Linked DNA regions of Homo sapiens: region 1 is linked to region 2. The links are contacts of gene promoters, found by promoter capture Hi-C in human tissues and cell types (Jung and others, 2019). All regions are on one chromosome and are shown on one strand. The core of a region is centred on a gene start or on the middle of the fragment in contact, and the rest is flanking DNA. Distances in the headings are between cores, read along the strand shown. Region 1 holds the start of CYP3A43 (cytochrome P450 family 3 subfamily A member 43). Region 2 holds the start of FAM200A (family with sequence similarity 200 member A).

Region 1 (4,567 bases), core at 1,613-4,112, 280 kb after region 2:
AGGGATGGGGCTTCTTAAGAGAAACTCCCCCGAGAGCTGGACATGTGTAGAACAACAGGTGTGTTCTTCAGAAGCACCAGCTGCTCAGTCCGCAGAGCCAGCTCCAACAAGTGGGCTTATAGGGGTTTCAGGCCCATGTTCTACACTCCTGTAGCCCCTTTTATGACAGAACAGCACAGAAATACAGGAACAAAGGAAAAGACTATTTCTAGAGGAAAAGGGGATCAAACGATGTGAGTATTCATAAGAGAAAGTACTAGAGAGTACCCTAGAGTTGCTGCACCCAGCACTAGTAACACAAATCCTTTTCTCCTATTTATTAAGATTTTGCAGAGGAGACAAAGAGCAATTCTTAACATCTGCCCAAGTGGATCTCCCAGAAAGAAAGGCCAGGAGCTTGTCTGGAAAGAAATTCTTACTTTTCTCAGCCAGACATGGAGGCATGTGCCTGTAGTCCCAGCTACTTGGGAGACTGAGATAGAAGGATCACTTGAGCCCAGGAGGCGGAGATTGCAGTGAGCCAAGATCACACCACTACATTCCAGCCTGGGTAATAAAATGAGACTCTGTCAAAAAAAGAAAAAGAAAAAAAAAGAAATTCTTACTTTTCTGCTGACTTACAAGTGCTTGGGCTCCCTTCACTGAGGCTTCTGAAAGAACAGAGTGGCTTTGGTATCCTGCTCATAGGGACAGAACTGCTGAGGCCAAGAAAAATGTTTGTCCTTTCTCCTCTGAAGGTTTGTTAACAACAAAAAAAATCACCCACAAAGGAGATTAATGGGAGAAATAGCATACATATTCATTCATATGTTTATGGAGGAGAAATACAGAGTGATTCCCCCTTCTTGAGAAACAGTAAGTCTCAAAGAAAGAGACTTTCTTTCACCCCCTTTTATCCAGGGGTAAGAACAACTAGCTGAACAAAACTGACAGCTGTCAATCAAGTGGGAAGTCCAAAACTCATGAGAGACCCACCCAGTTTTCAATCATCATGAAGGAGCCAGGGGCTCAATGGCCCCTGCTGGTACCAAGTTGCCAGGTCCCTGCAATGTTCCAGACAAAGACAGTGATGGTAAAAAGGGAAAAGTGGAGGTAGAATGCAAGTGCAGCAGCAGGAAGATATGGGACTCTCCATTTTAGGGTCTTCAAGTTTTTCAGATTTTCTGAGACATGGGTTAACTCTTCAGGTTAGTCTCCTAGTAAAACACAGCCAAAGTCCCAATTGTGTTTGAAACTTTCAAAAATGCAGATTGAAAGAAAGCCTCTTACTGTCTTTGAGAAGTCCAGACTCCTCTTATCCTCATTGCATGCTTCGGAGTTCAATTTAGGTGTATCTCTCACATCCATTTCTGTCGAGCCTTTACCTTTAAATTTTAAACTTGAAAAACTGCCAGAGTACCTGATAGTGATTGATCAGAGACAGAGCCACCGAATTACCCGATGGCAGGCCTTAGAGACCATGGCCTTAGGACCTAGGTTATGCATAGCCCTCACCTTAGGAAGGGGTCCCTTCAAGGGCAAATAAAATGCGATAGTCCTTGCAACACTGAAGCATGGAGTATCCTGTGAGGCATGAACTTGCTTGATGCAGCATGAATGCACCCCAAGAAACATGGGCATGCCCCTCCAAGTGCAAGCATACCCCACAAGTGGGTAGCCATAGAGCCAGAAGGGCAGGTTCCCTGAAAAAAATAAAGACCTCAAGACCTCATCCTAAATGTGAGATCTTGGATGTAAGAGGATTTACTGATTTTTCCACAAAACAGCCAGGCCAGGAAGATAACTGAGCTTAGAGGACTCTTGCTGGTGCCAATGCATTGATTAGTCCAGATGACAAGGGAGAGGATCTTGAGAGCCAATTTTGATCCCTTCCTCATCACCAGGAAATATGAGTAAAGATTGTGGGATCTGTGGAGGACAGAGGGAGAGCTTCATTTTCTATAAAACACAGTCTGCAGATTGAGGAGATGCAGCCTCGGAGGTGGAGAGCTATAAAGTCAAAAACCACAGAGCAGGATAGAGGAGTCAGAGGAGTGAAGAAAAGAGTCTTGATTAGACAGCCTTTAAGCCCCAAGTCACATGTCTCTTAATTGGCTGTTCCTAGGTGGTCAGTTAGTTCTTACCACATGATCTGTTGGTGAGCAGTTGGAAAATTCCCAGGTACAGATTTTTTCAGAAAATGTTATTTGACTTGGCTACAGAAAAATAGGTTTTGCAACACTTACTAAGAACACAGAGAACATGACCATCACCTAAACCTGCCATGGCCTCTTGGGTTTGTTTTTGCTTTTGAGGCACAGGGAGTCCTTCTTGTCTGTTTACCTGGAGGCATGATTTGGCAACCTAGATAACAAACAGAGATAGGCTTTCTAAAAAGAATTATTTTTATTTGGGAATAAAGCATTGCAATGGGAATATGCGTGCCAAGGTAAACTATGTGCTTATTCAGGTAGGTAAAGTAAGACAAAGTTTAAAAAAATAATGAGAAGGATTACATATTTGTTTTGGAATGATTATCCTTGGCTATAAAGATCAATAACAAGACTGACATCAGTTTGAGGTTGGACAGGCAGTTGCTGGGCAGATGTTCTTGCAGAAGTATTTTTCTTTAGGTTCCTGAGAATCTATAACCTTTGGGCTTACCAATAGCAGTGACTGATTTGTTTACTGATTGTTCACAGAATAGGAAATCAAAGGAGGCCAAAATAAGGACAGCCATAATTATTTGCCAATTGTCAATTTGAAAAGGGTACCCAAATCCCTCCATATGAGGAGTAGCATAAGTGGCTTTTCTACTGGCTGCCGCTGTAGACCCACCTCCTTCTCCAGCACATAAATATCGCTGTTAACATTAACTAAATCACCTCTGGGCAGAGAAACAAAGCTCTATATGCACAGCCCAGCAAAGAGCAGCACACAGCTGAAAGAAAAACTCAGAAGACAGAGCTGAAAAAGAAAACTGGTGATGGATCTCATTCCAAACTTTGCCATGGAAACATGGGTTCTTGTGGCTACCAGCCTGGTACTCCTCTATATGTGAGTAACTATGCAGGCATGTTTGCTCTTAACTCTAAGACCTGAAGTGCTAATTGGGCCCATCTTTTTCTTATTTGTTTTGAAGATAAAAGAGATAACGGAGGGGAAGTTACCTAAGTGCCAAATACTGTGAACACATAAAATATTATTAATATGTTAGGACTCCTAATACAACATTTGAAAATGTAAAATTTAGTCTGGGTGCGGTGGCTCACACCTGTAATCTCAGCACTTGGGAGGTGGAGGCAGGCCAATCACAAGGTCAGGAGTTCAAGACCAGCCAGACCAACATGGTGAAACCCCTTCTCTACTAAAAATACAAAAATTAGTCAGGCATGGTGGCACACACCTGTAATCCCAGCTACTTGGGAGGCTGAGGCAGGAGAATCGCTTGAACCCAGGAGGCAGAGGTTTCAGTGAGCGGAGATTGCACCACTGCATTCCAGCCTGGGTGACAGAGCAAGACTCCGTCTCAAAAAAAAAAATAAAACTTTGTCATACTGAGTAGTTTGAACTAAAGAAGACTGAAAGACTTCACAAATGTCTTCAGAATCTCTGACCCTCTTCTGTCTACCCATCCCCCATTCTTTCCCTCCTGAAGTGCAGGGTTGCTCTGAAGTTCTCTTATCTGACTAAGGGAAGATCTTCCAAAAAGAATGCAATTGTCTTGAGCCTCTCCAAATAATCTCATCAATCAGAAAACTAATTCACAGGAAAAGAGAAAAAGTTTGATAATACTTATTCTTTGGAGCACTGCTACCTGAGAGACTTTATCTCCACAATAAAATAACCTTTGTTCATCATGTGTTTTCTCCCTTCACCTTCCCATAACTTGTGTCAGAAACTCCCTATCAGAAGCCACTCCCTACTTTTTAGCTTACAATGCTATTTAAGCTTTACTCATTCAGTCCTTATTTTAGTCTCATATATTGTGGGCCTCCAGCACATATGCATGTAAAATTTTGTATGGATTTTCACTGTAACCACCCAAGAGATTCACCTTGCCCCCTGCCTCAACAGAGCCCATTCATCAAGACAGGGGAATTGTAATAGAGAATGAGTTAATACATGCTGCCAACAAAAAGAGCCAAACTCTGTACAATACTTGAAGAGATTTATTCTGGGCCAAATATGAGTGACCATGGCCCATGACACAGCCTTCAGGAGGTCTTAAGAACATGTACCCAAGGTGGTCAGGGTGCAGCTTGGTTTTATTCTTTTAGGGAGGCATGAGATATCAAATACATTTAAGAAATACATTGGTTTGGTCCACAAAGGCAGGAAATGTGATTTTTGCAGAATTCTTTGTGATAGAGCAGACTCCAGAGAAATTGCAACAACTTAAAGTCTTTCAGATCTGGCCCTAAGGAGCTATAGGAGAGAAAAAAAATCTGTCAGATCACCATTGCCTACCTCTACTCCAACTGGAGCTGTTTCAAAACCAACATGTAGAAATCTTTTTGTCTGGCTGCCCTGTGAACTCAGAAACTAGTCTGCTAAATGATTAACTTTTGGTCTCCTTTTGCTTTGG
Region 2 (4,559 bases), core at 847-3,346:
CTCTCTCAATAATGCAAGTAACTTTCTGTATGTTGGTGGCACAAATGGAAATGAATGTGGGGCCATAGGTTTTGCTTAGCTGAATGTTAAATTCAGTCTATCGGCAGATTCCAAAATTGGAAGAGACCTTGAGATAATCTATTTTACTTTACTTAGGACACATTTGAGACTTGGTGGGTCTATGTGTTTCATCCAAGAACATCAATGGCAGAACTGGTACCAGTCCCCAATGGTCCGCTGCACCGTCCACAAATTCCCTTCTCTCCTTTATCCCTCGATGTCAAGCATAGATACCTCCCACAACTGAAAACCCCCCATGTCCGAAATTGCTCATTTAAAACCCTTCCTGGCAGGGCGTGGTGGCTGACCCCTGTAATTGCAGCACTTTGGGAGGCCGAGGCGGGCGGATCACCTGAGGTCAGGAGTTCATTTTCCCAGCCTGGCCAACATGGCGAAACCCCGTCTCTACTAAAAGTACAAAAATTAGCCGGGCATGGTGGCAGGCGCCTGTAATTCCAGCTACTCAGGAAGCTGAGGCAGGAGAAGCTTGAACTCGGGCGCTGGAGGTTGCAGTGAGCCGAGATCGCACCACTGCACTCCAGCCTGGGCGACTCTGTCTCAAAAACAAAAAAACCAACCAAAGAAACAAAAAGACCCCTTCCTAAAGTCTTGAAAGGAAAGGGTGAAGTGTAAATGAGCTTTTCCTATTATATCCAAATCACTTCTTTATTCAGTAGGCTTCAAACATTCTCTTTTTTTGTTTTTGAGACAGAGTCTCACTCTCTCTCTCTGTCTCCCAGGCTGGAGTGCAGTGACGCGATCCTGGCTCACTGCAACCTCCGCCTCCCGGGTTCAAGCGATTCCCCTGCCTCAGCCTCCCAAGCAGCTGGGATTACAGGCGTGTGCCGCCACGTCTAATTTTCTGTATTTCTAGTAGAGACAGGGTTTCTCTAGGTTGGCAAGGCTGATCTCAGAACTCCTGGCCTCAAACGATTCGCCTGCCTAGGCTTCCCAAAGTGCTGGGATTATGGGCGTGAGCCACTGCGCCCGGCCTTCACTCTAATCACCACCATAATGGTACTGGGTTTGAGGGTGAACATATCATCCGCGGACACTGGCTTAACGAGCCCATCCGAATAAAACAAATTATAAGGCCAATGGCACTTGGTATCGTGTAAGATCGCCAGAATTTTACAACTCGGGGTACCCAGGAAACCAGAAAAGCCCCCACCACAAGAAAAACCAGTGGGCACAACTGGGGAGCACAGATATCTGACTGGGGTCATTTTGTCCGCGCGTCTTTGGGGTAAAACACCAGGACTGGGGGTCCAGAAGGGACACGCAGACCGCCTCTCTCCAGTCCCAGGGGTGTCTCCAATCCGGAAACCAAAACTTCGTTCCCTTCCCACCTGTATCCAGGGACACCTCTGCTGGGGGACAGCGCTTGCCACCGCCGAGGCTGGCGCGAGGAACGGGGGCACGGACCCGCTTCCACTCCGTCCCGGGCGGTCGTGGCGAGGGGATTGCAGGACACAGCCATGCACGTCCAACTCTGTCCCCGCCCGGAGAAGTCTGGGATGCTGGGATAGAAGGGGTTGTGACTTTGGGGACCAGGAGCACTAGACTCACATCCAAGCCCCCTGGCCTTCAGAGCCCAGGGAAAGCGTCACAAAAGCCGGAAGTGCGTCACACCCGCCTTCCGGAGCTGCGCTCCGCTTCGGGGTCCTCTCTAGGATCGCGGGAGGACTTTGCATCCCTGTGTAGGGCTCTAATCTCGGGTTTGGGGATCTTGCTCCTCAGCTTGTCCGCTCCGAGGAGGTGCACAGGGCGGGGAAAAAGGGATGAATTTCCCTTTATACCGCCCTGCTCAGATATTTATATGTTCCTTCTATTTTTCTTGATGACAATAATTGTAATAGTTACAATAAAAATAGTGATTGTCTGTGGCAGAGGAGCTGAATGAAACGAGGGTGGAGACAGGAAGATCAAGAATAAATGGTTTCACAAATCGAAGGGATTGTCTCTTGAGACGCTGATTATGTACGTATTGCCAGTTGAATGGGCAGTATTTTCAAATACTTGATCTATAGGCAACAGACGTTCTTTCCAACACTAGATAGTTATAAAATTCTGAGTTTGCCTTATGTTTCCAGGGAGTTTTCAGATTAGCAACGGTGAAATAAGTTGAATTTGAGGCGTTTTTGCTGTCCAAGTGTTATTGTAATAATTAGGGCTTCTATGATTAGATCAAGAATAACTTCACCTTTTATAAAACAGTAACTGAGACCTTGAATGGCTGGGGCATGACTCTAAAAGTTCTGGGCAAGTCTGTGGTACAGCCCAATAAGATAAAAGCCTACAAAAGGAACGGCTACCTGATACAGAGCCTATGATTACGTGGTATCCCGAATTACCTTCTAGACCCTCACTAATGCTCCATTCCTTAGGGGGTTTGATCTTGCTATGGTTGCCATTTTCTACCTACCCACGAGTCTTCTCAATAATCCACTTAAGTGCATCTTTGCTCCATATATATATATACACACATATATATACACACACATATATATACACATATATATACATGTATATATATATACACACACATATATATATATACACACACATATATATATATATATATATATATATATATTTTTTTTTTTTTTTTTTTCCTCCTAGGGCACCGTCAAATCCAATCTTTGCTCCTTTATCACTGGCTGGCTTTCTAACCTACAGTCCTCCGTGATGACATCATAGTCTCAACTTATTCCTCCAGATACATCCTCATATTTCCTTCCAGGGTTCCAAGTCATCGCTAAGAGTCATTACATTGCTACACACTGTATTTTTCTTCTTTGTCTAAAGTCTCTCCTCCCCACCCGTCCCCATTCCTACACTGAAGTGCCTAAAGGGTCCAGGAAGGCAGATTACTGAATGCAGTTGACTGGGTATATGATTTTGTATTTATGTTGTGTGTGTGGCAGGAATTGTAGGCATCTCTATAACGACTCCTTTCTTTGCCTACGGACCTACTGGCACAAGAAACTCAAAGTGGCCTGGTGGTATTCTGTTTTCAGTTCAGTGGCACGATTTAATGTTTCCTAGAGGAAATGTTCTTCCTGGAAATGAGGATCATAACCCAGCTGGCTCCAGATTTCGGAGCGAGGAGGCACAAATTCTACAGGTGAGTGGCTGGGTGTGATAGTAATAGAGGCTACTCCTGTATGCACATAGTCCTACTGGAGACACAATACTATATATCCATTTTGGCCCAATGCATTTCAGCGCATATACCATATTCTGAAGAACTGCTCCCAACTTTGCAAGGCATTACATCTTAATCGCAATTTAGCCCAGTCTTCAACAGGCCATTCCAAAACCCTATCTGGCTAGCTGCTTCTGGATGATGAGTATGCACCATGAATTTTGTAGCTTCGAGTTCACTGTCACACCTCCTTGGCTATCGGTGGGTTCCTTAGTTTCAGGTATGTCAATGGATAAGGCACCCTGTAAGCTCTCAGATGGTGGTGCTGCTGGAGGCAAAGTAGTTGGGGAAGACAAGCTCATTTAGAGCATATATCAATTCTGGTAAGAACAAATTGATGCCCATTCCAAGGTAAAAGGGATCTGATGCACTCAACCTGGTGGTAGCTGGTATCTCTAAGACTCAGTGTTGGTCTCTAATGCTGGCAGGCTGGACACTCCACCATGGTGAGAGTTACATCAGCCTTGGTAAGAGGTAGACCATATTGGCCGGGCACGGTGGCTCACACCTGTAATGTCAGCACTTTGGGAGGCTGAGGTGGGTGGATCACAAGTTCAGGAGTTCGAGACCAGCCTGAGCAACATGGTGAAACACCGTCTCAACTAAAAATACAGAAATTACCTGGGTACGGTGGTGTGTGCCTGTAGTCCCAGCTACTCGGGAGGCTGAGGCAGGAGAATTGCTTGAACCTGGGAGGTGGAGGCTGCAGTGAGCTGAGATCACACCACTGCACTCCAGCCTGGGCAACAGGGCGAGACTCCGTCTCAAAAAAAAAAAAAAAAAAAAAAGAAAAATAAGAGGTAGCCCATATTGTTGGGACCACGCACAGCCTCTATCCCTGCTACCATGGTCTCTGTTCATAAGCCTATTGCATAAACAATAAGATGGTCCCTAACCAACAAGCCAAGCCATTCATCACTGCCTAGGAGTCAATGCATATCCCTACCTTAGGCTACCTCCTCCAAAATATGGCATGGGTGACCAAATGTACCATTGCTCACTGAGATAATTTTTCTTCACCAGTATGCTTCAGGGCAACGCGAGTGGGGCTGTAATGAAGAACAGTCTGTTTCTGGAAGATGCCAACATGCTGAACTGACCCAATCCCCAATCTGTGCAGAGGCCAAGGCTCTTCTGTCTCCATCAGTTAGTTGTAGGGAACTTTTATAAGGCCATAGGAGTAAGTTTATGGGAGAGGTGGCAGTAGAGCAGAGGTAACTGACCTGGGAGTTTGGAAACGTGGGTTTTGTTTTTTTGCCTTAGAAGGCATGACCTTGCTCCAGAATCTTAG

Evidence for each region. The method cuts DNA at HindIII sites, captures the fragments that hold promoters and counts their contacts. A contact is called where the count stands out against the background at its distance.
Region 1: a contact is called between the fragment with the promoter of CYP3A43 here and a fragment that was not itself captured in region 2, in 1 of the 25 tissues and cell types used here (small bowel).

Annotation. Positions count from the first base shown.
Region 1 is chr7:99,825,151-99,829,717 of GRCh38, forward strand. It overlaps CYP3A43 (cytochrome P450 family 3 subfamily A member 43), which reads left to right and starts at 2,863. Exons shown (of 13, transcript NM_057095.3): 1 at 2,863-3,036. The coding sequence starts at 2,966. The HindIII fragment of the contact is 7,263 bases long and covers 1-4,567 here.
Region 2 is chr7:99,550,445-99,555,003 of GRCh38, forward strand. FAM200A (family with sequence similarity 200 member A) reads right to left here and starts at 1,670. Exons shown (of 2, transcript NM_145111.4): 1 at 1,410-1,670. LOC105375422 (a long non-coding RNA gene) reads left to right here and starts at 1,721. Exons shown (of 3, transcript XR_927801.4): 1 at 1,721-2,040; 2 at 3,081-3,187; 3 at 4,292-4,559. RefSeq lists an enhancer at 1,227-1,416. The HindIII fragment of the contact is 6,423 bases long and covers 1-4,559 here.